Linked DNA regions of Homo sapiens: all the other regions are linked to region 2. Evidence: promoter capture Hi-C in 16 types of primary human blood cells and fetal thymus (Javierre and others, 2016). All regions are on one chromosome and are shown on one strand. The core of a region is centred on a gene start or on the middle of the fragment in contact, and the rest is flanking DNA. Distances in the headings are between cores, read along the strand shown. Region 1 overlaps SDK1 (sidekick cell adhesion molecule 1). Region 2 holds the start of SDK1 (sidekick cell adhesion molecule 1). Region 3 overlaps SDK1 (sidekick cell adhesion molecule 1). Region 4 overlaps SDK1 (sidekick cell adhesion molecule 1).

Region 1 (2,994 bases), core at 11-2,510, 290 kb before region 2:
TTTTTTGAGACCAAGTCTTACTCTGTCGACCAGGCTGGAGTGCAGTGGCGCGATCTGGGCTCACTGCAAGCTCCGCCTCCCGGGTTCACGCCATTCTCCTGCCTCGGCCTCCTGAGTAGCTGGGACTACAGGCACCCGCCACCACATCCGGCTAATTTTTTGTGTATTTTTAGTAGAGACAGGGTTTCACCGTGTTAGCCAGGATGGTTTCGATCTCCTGACCTCATGATCCGCCTGCCTCGGCCTCCCAAAGTGCTGGGGTTACAGGTGTGAGTCACCTCGCTCAGCCTGTAACCTACTCTTATACCAGTTTTGGCCAATCACAGGCGGCCAGTGTTCAAACTGTGTTCAAGTAAGGCAGACGCTAAGCTGTAACCAATCTAGCTGTTTCTGTACCTGTACCTCACTTCTATCTTTTATGGTGCTTTCCTTTTTCTGTTCATAAGTGTTATCTGATGATGTGGCAGCATGAGTTACTCTGAACTTAGGCTAGCCTGGGGGCTTCTGATTCCAGAATTAGTCTTCGCTCAATTAAACTCTGCTAAATTTCCTTTGTCTGAAGTTCTTCTTTTAACATTTTGATTTCCTTCATATGAAATTCAAGCACAGGTAATATTTATCTATTTGAAAAGAAATCAGAAAAACGACTGCCTACAGGGATGGAGATTAATTGGAAGGGCCTGAGGGAACTTGCAGGGGTGATGGAGACGTTCATCTGGAGTGAGGAGGTGGTCACAAAGTCCATGCGTTTGTCAAAACTTACCGGCTTATGCACTTAACATCTATGAAATTCTTTTCATGCTTTCTGTACATTTTACCTCAATTAAAAATCCTTAGAGCAGACATCTACCCATTGTTACAGAAATGGAGACACACTTTCCTCAGTCACTGCCTCGAGCAACTTTACCACAATGACTGTGGTTTGTTCTGATGGTCACTGGCACTGTCAGACTTACTCTCTTGTACCAATTATTGTGCTAAGGAGACTGCCTATTACTGAAATTTCATTTCTCCTATTACTGTTTAACTCTCATGCAACCCAGCCAGATGGAAGAGCCAGCAAGATGACAGCTTCTGTTACTACCCCTGGAACGACAGACTGAAACGCTCCAAAATGCGGAACTTTTTGAGCACCAACAAAGGAAATGCTCACTGGAGCATTTCAGATTTGGAATTTTTAGATAAAGGATAATTAATCTGTGCTACCTAACAATTATTGAGCATCTACTTCATACCAAGGAGGAAATATTTTAATAAATACTATCTGAAATGTTCTCACAACGACCGCATCAGGTAGATGGTATGACTTAAAAAAAAAAAAAAAATACCCATTAGACAGGTTAAAACACCGAGCCAGAGTGGTTAGTGTTGACTAGTAACTAGACAACATAAACAGACTGTAACCTCCTTTTTTGTTGTTGTTTTTTTTTTTTTTTTTTTTTTTTTTTTGAGATGAAGTCTTAACTCTGTCGACCAGGCTGGAGTGCAGTGGCACTATCTGGGCTCACTGCAAGCTCCGCCTCCCGGGTTCATGCCATTCTCTAACAATTAGACTCGTTCAAAGTCTAACTTTGAACTGGTAACTTTGACTAGTTCAAAGTCACGCAGGAAGTGGCAGAGTCAAGGTCAAACCCCTGTGGTACAAATACTTCCATGATCATGTCACTCTGCCTCACTGCCCCTAAGATTCAGAATGTAAACTAAAAATGAATAGAATTATAACTGCATAATTAAATATTATCAGTAGTGCTGGTGAGTTTTATTAAATATATCGGAGGCAACAGTTTATGTTTCTGTTTCAAAAATGAGAAAATATACATACAAATATGCCTCTTACCCAAGACCAAGCAAAGTCCAGATAACTGTTATTAGAAAAGCAATCAAAGATAATCCATGCAGTAGCTATTAATATATATTTCATGCAGGGGACATTTAATAAATAGGGTAGAAGTATATAAATGAATTTATATATAATTTTTTACAAGCAAAATATCATAAAGTTACGAATAGGGTAGAAGTATATAAATGAATATATATATAATTACAAGCAAAATATCATAAAGTCACCAATATGGCAGAAAAAAACAGTGTTAATTAGCTAGCTGAAAAAGCTCACATTATTCAGGCAAGATTCAAAAAAAAAGTAATCGGGAGAAAATTGGCTGCATCTGACTTCAATCTTCTACGCGTTGCTGAAATCAAATTGGAACTCACTGTGGTGGCAACAAGGGTATTTTCCATCTTTCCAATCACCCATTTTTGTTAAATTAAAACATAAAAGCAACTAGAGATTAAACCAAACAAAATGAGTGCTCTACACATAAACCTACTAGAAAAACAGTAAACCCTATACATTAATGATGATTTAGCTTTACCTAGAAATAACATTTTCTTTTAATGAGATGCAGGTATGATTCTTTAAGTATGCTTGATTTTAAAACTATCCTCACTCTTGCCCCTCTAATGAAAGCAGGGACTGATGGTTCTTATATCAGTATTATCTCTAAAACAGTAAGCAATTTTTCTTACAATCAATAGTATATTTAGACTAATAAGCACAGGAAAAATGTTCAATGTCATTAGTCACTGGGAAAATTAAAATCAAAGTCACAATTAATGAGGTAACCCACCCAAACCACCCAGTAAAGTGACTAGAATCAAAAAGACAAACAATTACAAGTGTTGGCAAGGATGTGGAGAAATCAGAACCCTCATACATGACCGGCGGCAATGTAAAATGGAAATGGTTTGGCGGTCTCTCAAAATGTTAGGTATCAAGTTACCATACGACCCAGTAATTCCATCCTTAGGTATATACTCAAGAGAAACGAAAACATACATCCACACAAAAACTTGTATTATCAATGCTCATAGCAGCATTATTCATGATAGCCAAAAAGCAGAAACAATCCAAATGTCTATCAACTGATAAATGGATAAGCAATATGTGGTATATCCACACACTTTATTAATCTGCAATAAAAAGGAATTTGG
Region 2 (3,125 bases), core at 525-3,024:
ATAAAAAAAAGTATGAGTTCGTTGTTAAGCTATTGGATGATAGTTTTGAGCTCAGACCTTTAAAATGTTACAACATTTAAGTCATGTTACTACACATAAATCATCTTCACAGGACACAGAACACAGCTAATTTAAGTTTAATGCTCTCATCTTCGCCAATCTCAGAATATCGAGTTCCTTACCATGATTGTTCGTTAGCTGTATCTTGGAATACAACTAAGTTAATTTTCCTAAAACTACCATCAGCAAAACCAGTTCACTAATGTGTTTTAAAGACGTTACCAAAGGACGTATTAAAATAGTTATTTCTGGGTTGAGGGGGGTGTTTTGGTTTAAAGACCAGCAAACTTCAAAAGAAAACGATGCTAGCTGGCAGGGGTACGTTACGGGTTTTGTCGGGGGCGGGGAGGGGGTGGAGGGAAGCCCAGATTTGGGAAGGAAAGCTCGTTTCACAAGAGATCCCATCTCTCGTTTCAAAAGGTCATTTCCATTCAGCAGATCCTCTTTCCCTATTTCAGAGCTCACCACTGTATTCTAAACAGAAGCCAATAGAGGGAGAAAAACAAAGCCAAGTGCAAAAGCTGTGGGCACTGAAAGTTTTGCTCCACCGGCCGCGCAGCACCCACTTGGGGTCGGGCTTTGGGACTTGGGGGAGTCAGGAGCAGGCGGGGGCTGGGGAGAGGACGAGGCCCTGGGGAGGGGCTGGAAAAGGCTTTTCACAGCGACTGGCACTTGATATTTCCAAGTCTTCTGGATGTCACTCACCGGAAACCAGACCCTGCGGTGCGAAGACTCAGGTACAGACCAGCCCCTTTTTCATCCATGCAATGGGAAGGGGACTCGGGCATCCTTTTAAGGAGCTGAGAAATGGGTCCTCAACTTAAAAATTTTTGTTTGTGCTACTGCGGTATAAAAAAAATAAAACGCAAAGTAGCAGACGGGGTGCAGGCTCTACGGGGCTCCGTTTCCCTCTCCTCCGAGTCTGGCGTGGAGGAGCCCCTGGGCTCCCTAGAGCCCCCAGCAAGGCGCATCCCGACCCGGGCCGGGAAGCGGGGGGACCCCGGACACACTCTCGCTGCTCAAGTTCGCGCCTCCGCGCCCCGAGGCGACGCCCCCGGCCCGCGACCCCGCGCGCACCTACCTTGCGCCAGCGCCCGGAGCAAGTGCAGCTGCAGCGCCAGCAGCGCCCACCAGCCGCGGCGGCCCGGCCCCAACTTTGCCGCCCGCCGCCCGCCGCACCGCCCCGCGCCCGCCGTGTCCCCGCCGGAGGTCTCGGGCGCCGCCCGGGGTCGCGAGGGCTCCGGGCCGGGGCGCGGCGCCAGCGAGGGGCGGGCGCGGCCGGGCGGGGATCCCCGCGGCCGCCCGGGGCCCGCGCGCTCAGGGGGCTCCGCGCCGCCGCCGCCGCCACCGGCCGCCGAGGGCCGGGCGCCCCGGGCCATGCCGAGCAGCCGCCACCCCGAGCGCCGCGCCGGACGGACGGGCGGGCAGGACAGGCGGGACGGCTCCGAGCGGGCGCGGCCACTCCGCGGGAGGCGCGGCGCCCCCCGGCCCGAGGTGAGCGGCCGCCCAGCGCTGAGGGGCGGCGTCCTGGGTCCCCGCGTGAGGGGCGCGGCGCGGGCCGGGGACGAGCCGGGCGAGAAGAAGTTGTCAACGGGGGAAATTCGCGTCCGGCGCTCACGCAGTCCCGAGCCCGCCGCGCTAGCTCCGAGGGGTCCGCCGGGCGCGGAGGAGCCGCCGCCGCCGCCGCCCCCGCCCGGCGCTGAGAAGAAAGTGCGCCCGCCCGCACGTCGCGGTCGCGCTCGCCCTCAGCTGCCGCGGCCGCCGCTCCCCATTCACAGCCCGGCCGCACGCGCCGCCCGCGCCCGCCGCCCGCCGCCCGCCGTTGATTGGCCGAGGGAGGCGGCGCCCGCTCCCAGGGCCCGCCCCCCAGGCCCTCGCTTGTTTTCAAAGTCGCGGCGCCCGCCCGCCTGCAATTTTGTGCCGGCCGCGGCGCCTGGCTCGGGCGGCTTCCCGCGCCGGCTGCGCCCCCTAGGGACCCGTAGTGGGGACTGCAGGCGGCGTCGATTCGGCACGCGCTCCCGTGGCGGGCTCGCGGGCGGGGGTGGTGCATCCTCGCCCGGCCCCGCAGCGGTGCGGGCGCCCGAGTGGGAAGGGCTCAGGTGCAGCAGGACGCGCAGATCGTGCGGCAGCCCAGGGCCGAGGGCGGAATAGGGCGCGCCCCGAGAGGCGCCCGGCTACCACCAGCTAGCTCAGTGCTTGGGGGTGACGCGCCAAGTTACCGTAATTGCAAACACGCGCAATCGGGTTTTTAATTTCTAGCAACCAAAGGCACCACTGGGTGCAAACTCGCCTCCTGTTCAGAGGAGTGGATATGGCATTGTAGAAGCGTCCAAGGTCACTTTTGGCCGGCGCTGGAGGAGGGCGGGGTAGGGAGGGACACATTGCAGGTTTCCCACCGTGGAGTGGGCGAGTCTTGGGGCAGGGTCGGCCAGTGGGAGGGTCTCCCAGGGCGGGACCCGGGAGCCTGTGGGGCTGGGGGTGGGGACGGGCGCCGACGCTCAGCATGTGGTAAGCATTAGCAGAGTTTATGGGGTGAACTAAGCGCACTGGAGGCTGAAAGGCCAGCATTTTTGTGGGAGGAGAGCTGGAGGTGACACGCACTGCCTCTGGAGTTGGCCCGGGAGGAGCCTGGGGACGTGTGATGATGGTCGCATGAGATCATGTAAGAGATGAACGCAGAGGGGCTGGGTGTGAGCCCAGCACGGGGCTGACTCCCCAGGAATCACCTGATGCAGTAGGTTTATTGTCCCAGCCAAGAAAGACCCCGGGCGAGTGGAGAGCAGGTCACAGGGCTGGGGTCTGGGATAGGAGCCAGCTCCTGCTCACAGAGCGCCTATGGTATTTGTCAAATAACTGATTGGTGGCTCAATATTAGCCTCTGTACACGTCCCCTAAGACTTAACAATGACCACGTGAACAAAACAGGGAAACTGAGGTCCAAGTACAGCCGCCGAACAGGAGGTGGTTTCAGAAAGAGGCCTCCCATCTGCCCCCTTTCCACACCATGCTAGGAGGGGCAAAAAAGTTAAAGGAGCCACGGAGTGCCCTGTTCTGAGGATATAGTG
Region 3 (3,279 bases), core at 621-3,120, 320 kb before region 2:
GTCCAAAGTCACACCGGTAAGTTGAAGAGCAAGTCCCTGAACTCCAGTCTTCTGTTATCAGTCACTACTCAAACATGGTTCTCAACTCTAAGTTCACTTTTTCTGTTTCTGCTTTCTTACACCCCTTCTAACAAACTGAGCCTTACAATGTCACATGGTAATAATGTATAATGCTGCCTACGATCACTAGAGCCTTCAATGCTCACAACACTGCAAATGAGGAGGGATCTTTCCCATTTTGCAAACGCTTACGTCACTCTCTTTTCACTTACGGGAGGGGAGGGCTCATGGGTCACCTGCCTAAAGTTATAACACCATTGCTCAGGTGTGGTGGAGCTGAATTCTGCCAGTCCTAGGATTCAGGACTGTTTGATTTCAACATGCTATGATCTACTATGATAAACTTTTCCTCGAGTGTAGATCCTCCAACAGGGTAGGCCCAATAATGTAAGCAGTCACACACTCACTTGTCTAAAGTGTGGGTGGGTAATGGGAATGGGGAGAGCAAGTGAGGTGCTACAAGGGACGGGGCTGCCAGAGAGCACCGAGGAGAACCAGGGAGTGTCCATGCCTTTGATGGGGGCAGCTCTGCTCAGCCGCCTGCTCCTGATTGGGGCTGCAGACCAGGCAGCCAGGCCTTCTGACTGGTCTGCAGAGGCTGGGAAGCAAGGTTTTTACAGAAAATCTTAGAACTGTCAAATGTTGGCAGCTAATAAAAAAATATGCTGTGGCTCACACCTGTAATCCCAGCAATCTGGCAGGCCAAGGCAGGCAGATCACCTGAGGTCAGGAGTTTGAGACAAGCCTGGTCAACATGGTGAAACCCCATCTCTACTAAAAATACAAAAATTAGCCAGGTGTGGTGGCTCACGCCTGTAGAACCAGCTACTTGGGAGGCTGAGGCAGGAGAATCATTTGAACCCAGAAGGTGGAGGTTGCAGTGAGCCAAGATCGCGCCACTGCACTCCAGCCTGGGCAACAAGAGTGAAACTCCGTCTCAAATTAAAAAAAAAAAAAATGCTGTAAGCATTCTCATATTTTTTTTAATTGATTTTTAAAATACAAACACACAGACAACTGACACACACATAAATTCTGGGCAGGCTGAGTGTGGTTCCACGGACCACCGTATCACAACCTCAGAGGTAAAGAGAGTGAGTGGGTGGGCTATTCCCCATTTGAGAAGCTTGTTATTCCACTTAAAATGCCTCTATACAGCCCACTCTTTCTTATTTCATCTAAAGAAAAGCATGGCAGCGATGATTTTGCTGATTTGCTGATGGTGAGGCCTCCTGGACTTTTCTGGCATGCTAGTTCTCCATCCTGCACAGAACTGCAGCATGTAATATTATCATCCTCAAAAGTATACCCCTGGAAAGCTCTGAAGCGTGGTAAGACCCTGAGGCTCCAAAGGCTGTGCTACTGCCTCCAGGTGAATCTACACCTCAGTCTTACCCTGATCTTGTGCTCTGCCACAGGTTCAGGCCCTCTGTCCCCACATCATGTCCACCCCAGTGCATCAGATCCCTGGTGACTGGCACAGTGCTGGGCACATGGCAGGACTTCAATATATACTGTTTTATTGCTGCTGAATATACAGGCTGTATGCATGCCCATTCTCCATGATTCCATCCATCCCTATCTCCACTTGAAAACAGCTAGGAAAGACTTTTGCTGACTACTCAGAGCTCCAGAAGCTACCATACTAAAGATCTGTTTAAACATTTGTGCCTAGACAGGAGCAATACTTGTGGGTAGGGCTGTTGCCCTTGGAAAGTAAATGTATCATACCAAAGCTGTTATTGGCATTGCTCTGTAACCATAGGTTTTTGTTGACTGATAATTTCACTAATGGGCTTACTTTTACAAATATAATGATAGACTTCCTAGGTGTAAGTACAACCTATATCAGAATAGTAAATCACATTCTAATTACATATTCAAATCTATTCCTTTAATCTTGAATGCATTAGAAATTCAATCCAATATTTTCACTCATTGTGCTATTATGACCAGTAAGGCAAGTATTCCAAACACATCAACTGAAATGGGATCTTATTTTTTCAAGCGATCAATTACTTATATTCGCTGCTGTAGGTGGTGAGCTCACTGTCATCGCGCATCCACTTGAACTCCAAAGGCCAGCTCCCTTCGGCAAGGCAGGTGAGAACAAGGCGGTTCCCTTCCAGGTGGATCTGTGGTAGGCCTGGCTCCGTTTTAAAATATGGAGCAACATCATCTGAAATATTAAAAAACAAAACAAAACAAAACTGAAGTACGCATGAAAGTGGCACTCATCTAATTTAATAAATCTATTATTTAAACAAACGTAATATTAAAATGAAAGTGATGGCTGTTTGGCCCAATTAAGAAGTAAATAATCCTTTACCAAACCCTGGAAACATGCAATACCCCAGATAATATTTCAAAAAGCTGAAAGCTCAATGATACCCGCATTTGAAAGCATCTGACAGGTTCATCCAAGTTATTTCCACTTATGGTTAATAGCTTATTGAAGGGACATATCGGACAATCCCTGTACATACAAGCTTTTGGTTTTAACTAGGCAATCTATTTGCGAGAAAACAGTCAAGTGTATGCAGGCTATAAAAGAGAAGTTTCCTCTATAACCTTCAATTGGTTTTAAAAAAGTAAGATAAGCAAGATTGACATACATACATAAACGACATGAATCGCAACCTAGCTTTCCTTTCATACACACGTGGAAATGGTCTCTCCTGGTGACTTTCAATGGGATACAACACAGGAAACTCATGGTATATTCACATAATGGAACAGCGCACTGCAGCGAGAATGCAGCAACAATTGCTACACATAGCAACACAGGTAAATCCCACACACATCAAGCCGAGTGAAAGAAGCCAGACAGAATTTTCAAAAAAGCTTATAGCATGTGCTACTATTCAAAAGTTCATAAAAGTTCACAGCCAGATAAAACTAATCTATGGTGTCAGAGGTTAAGGATAAGGGTTACCTCTGAGGGATGGGATAGCGACGGGGGTGAAGGTAATGGGATGGCTTATGAAAAGCAGGTCAAAATTTATTTCCTGATGTGGTTACAAAGGTACATTTACTTTGTGAAAATGGAGAGAATACTAGATATGATTTGTCAATGTTTTGTAGATCTGTTTCAATAACATTTTTTAATATGGATGCAGCACACTTGGCTTCTAGCTGTAGCATCACTAATTAGCTACCTGATCCTCATCAGGACTTACAGGTTTTTGTTTCTTTATCAGCAAAATAAACAGGATTATA
Region 4 (2,928 bases), core at 105-2,604, 340 kb before region 2:
TCCAGCCAGATCCTGGTCCAGAACTAGAAGACTGGAGACATGGGGCTTAGGGAAAGGATTCCACAGATGCTCAGGTGGGGGTGGGAGAGGAGAATCACCAGGTTTAGGGAAGGAATTCCACAGATGCTCAGGTAGGGGTGGGAGATGAGAATCATGAGGTTTAGGGAAGGGATTCCACAGATGCTCAGGTGGGGATGGGAGAAGAGAATCAGGAGGCTTAGGGAAGGGATTCCACAGATGCTCAGGTGGGGGTGGGAGAGGAGAATCACCAGGTTTAGGGAAGGGACTCCACAGATGCTCAGGTGGGGGTGGAGACAAGAATCACGAGGTTTACGGAAGGAATTCCACAGTTGCTCAGGTGGGAGTGGGAGAGGAGAATCACCAGGTTTAGGGGAAGGATTCCACAGATGCTCAGGTGGGGGTAGGAGACGAGAATCAACAGCTTTAGGGAAGGGATTCCACAGATGCTCAGGTGGGGGTGGGAGACGAGAATCACCAGGTTTAGGGAAAGGATTCCACAGATGCTCAGGTAGGGGTGGGAGATGAGAATCACGAGGTTTAGGGAAAGGATTCCACAGATGTTCAGGTAGATGAGAATCATGAGGTTTAGGGAAGGGATTCCACAGATGCTCAGGTAGGGGTGGGAGACAAGAATCATGAGCCTTCAGGAAGGGATTCCACAGATGCTCAGGTAGGGGTGGAGAGGAGAATCATGAGATTTAGCGAAAGGATTCCACAGATGCTCAGGTAGGGTTGGAGATGAGAATCACAAGGCTTCGGGAAGGGATTCCACAGATGCTCAGGTAGGGGAGAGAGCAGGTGGGTTCCCACAGTGACTTTCACAGTTAGATGTAAAATCTATTTGGCAAATGACCTCACACATATTCTTTTTGAAAAAGCACAACAATAGTATTTGCTCCTGATGAATTTTTATCTGAGTGCAACCACTGGATGGCATAAATATCTGACTTCTGGCCTAAGCTTATAGCATTTCATGATTCTTCTGGAAATGTTCAGCCTTGAAACCTTTATGTTTGGAATATTGTCTTTAAATTAGGTTGTAAAATGTCCAGTTATGAAATATATACCAAGTGTTCTTTTTAATCACTTAAAGCTCCAAGTGAAGAAAACCTGTCGGGCATTAGATAAATATCTTGAATGTGAGATAAGCATTATTTCAAGATGTTCTTGCCTAACTAATCACAAAGCAACTATTCTGCAATAGATGGGTGAACCACTAATTAGATGAAGAGAAATAAAACTGTCATGGTAGGATAAAAGGATAAAGAGAAATAAGCAGTAATTACTGTTTTATCGTCAGAGAAAGCAGTATCAAACATGGCTCAATAAAAGGAGGGGGAAAAAAAACCCCACAGCACTGTAAGTAAATACCAGCACTCATTAAATTAGTACTAGGAGGCAAACCCAACTCAGGGATGACAATGACATCTTAAAAAGTACACTCAGAAAAGAAAAAAATGGACTGCAAAGTTGGGTAAGGCTGCTTTAGTTTTAGGGCATGCAACATTCTGAAGAATAATATTAGACAGTTATTTGCTTAAACTGGTTAAAAATATTCAAGCCAGTCCTCAAATAGCTGTTTATTAAAAATTAGGATAGGACTCCTAGACTAGTTTGCTCTTTTTAAATCATCGGTAACCTTAATTGGTACACTTACTGTGTAGATGGTGCCAGCAAGTGACATTACAATTGTATTTGAAGCTTTAACGTTTGGAGCAACTTACATTCTGTTGCTTGGAATAATCTTGTGCCCTTCTCTAAACCAAGTCACTTGAGGTCTGGGGTAGCTGGTGATGGGCAGCAGGTTTAGAATCGCTGCACGTCCTTGAGAAACTGTTTTCCTCTGGTCCGTATCCATGAAACTTCCCATATCTGCAGAGAAAAAGAAGTGCTTTCAAGTTCTAGAAAACATTTTTGGGGGAGGGAAGGGGTCACAGATGGAAACAGGTAAGTGTTACAGTAAAGTCACTGATGCTGCCACATTTCACACCAGGACGAGCGAGACTGCACGGCAGCGCTGACCAACGCGGATCTGCTTGCGAGTGAAGCACCGGGCAAGCCACGCGCCTCCAAAGCGCCCACGCTGCACATTCCTCAGCAAAGCCACATGGTCTTTGTCCTACCTGACAATACAAGGAAATGTCTGCAACTGTCTGTGACACTGAAATGAAATGCTGAAGCCATCCTAGAGCCACGTGAAGCAGTTTTCTCAGAAACTGTCAGAAAATGTGTCCAGACATCTCCTAGCTCCTAAATCTTTCAAACTCGTTCCAGCCCGGCACCGGCCCTTGCTCTCTTCAGCTTGTTTCCTTCATTTGTGAGGTCACTGTCTCCTGCACAGATCTTTTGGGAGCAATATTTCCTAACCACTGAAGAGTCTATATACTATTCTCCCACTCTCATACTGTTGACTTAATCTGGGGCAACTAGCTTTTGTTCCAGTATTTGTTCTACTGATAAAAAAAATTTAAAAAATGGGGTCATAGGACAAAACATAGCTATTAGAATGTAGGTATAAAAGGCTAATTTTAAAATTTGTAACATTTGAAAATTTTGAATAAGATTCCATATTATGGTCAGATGTAAATATATATACAAACAGATATGGCAAAATAGTGTATTTTTATTTAAACATAAATAAGTTTGAAATAGTCCACAGAAGTGCTCTATTATCAATGTCTTCTTCAGTCAAAAGACATTTTCTATGTGACAGTGTCTAATACTTGAGGGAAAAGATGAAACAAACCAACAAAACAGATTAGAAAAATACTCATAGTTTTTTCAAAAGAAAATGAAATTTGTTATCAAAGCAAAGGAGAAAAGAAAGATTAAAAAAAAAAAATCTAAACGCAGAGCACAGTGGCTCACACCTGTCATCCCAGCACTTTGGGAGGCCGAGGCGGGTGG

The links. Contacts are between HindIII fragments. The CHiCAGO score rates a contact against its expected background, and 5 or more counts as called.
Region 1: a fragment that was not itself captured here is called in contact with the fragment with the promoter of SDK1 in region 2 in 1 of 17 cell types (activated CD4 T cells); the score reaches 5.3 in activated CD4 T cells.
Region 3: a fragment that was not itself captured here is called in contact with the fragment with the promoter of SDK1 in region 2 in 1 of 17 cell types (activated CD4 T cells); the score reaches 6.2 in activated CD4 T cells.
Region 4: a fragment that was not itself captured here is called in contact with the fragment with the promoter of SDK1 in region 2 in 3 of 17 cell types (activated CD4 T cells, non-activated CD4 T cells and total CD8 T cells); the score reaches 9.1 in activated CD4 T cells.

What each region holds. Positions count from the first base shown.
Region 1 is chr7:3,594,284-3,597,277 of GRCh38, reverse strand. The region is part of intron 1 of SDK1 (sidekick cell adhesion molecule 1); the gene reads right to left. Among named protein-coding and RNA genes, the nearest start is that of SDK1-AS1, 240 kb to the right of the region's middle. The HindIII fragment of the contact is 4,736 bases long and covers 1-2,994 here.
Region 2 is chr7:3,299,901-3,303,025 of GRCh38, reverse strand. It overlaps SDK1 (sidekick cell adhesion molecule 1), which reads right to left and starts at 1,774. Exons shown (of 45, transcript NM_152744.4): 1 at 1,142-1,774. The coding sequence starts at 1,439. It overlaps SDK1-AS1 (SDK1 antisense RNA 1), which reads left to right. Exons shown (of 3, transcript XR_001744897.3): 1 at 1-797. RefSeq lists enhancers at 973-1,473, 2,183-2,694, 2,695-3,125 and a silencer at 1,748-2,297. The HindIII fragment of the contact is 8,975 bases long and covers 1-3,125 here.
Region 3 is chr7:3,618,040-3,621,318 of GRCh38, reverse strand. It overlaps SDK1 (sidekick cell adhesion molecule 1), which reads right to left. Exons shown (of 45, transcript NM_152744.4): 2 at 2,080-2,239. Among named protein-coding and RNA genes, the nearest start is that of SDK1-AS1, 270 kb to the right of the region's middle. The HindIII fragment of the contact is 1,363 bases long and covers 1,189-2,551 here.
Region 4 is chr7:3,640,923-3,643,850 of GRCh38, reverse strand. SDK1 (sidekick cell adhesion molecule 1) reads right to left here. Exons shown (of 45, transcript NM_152744.4): 4 at 1,746-1,893. Among named protein-coding and RNA genes, the nearest start is that of SDK1-AS1, 290 kb to the right of the region's middle. The HindIII fragment of the contact is 741 bases long and covers 984-1,724 here.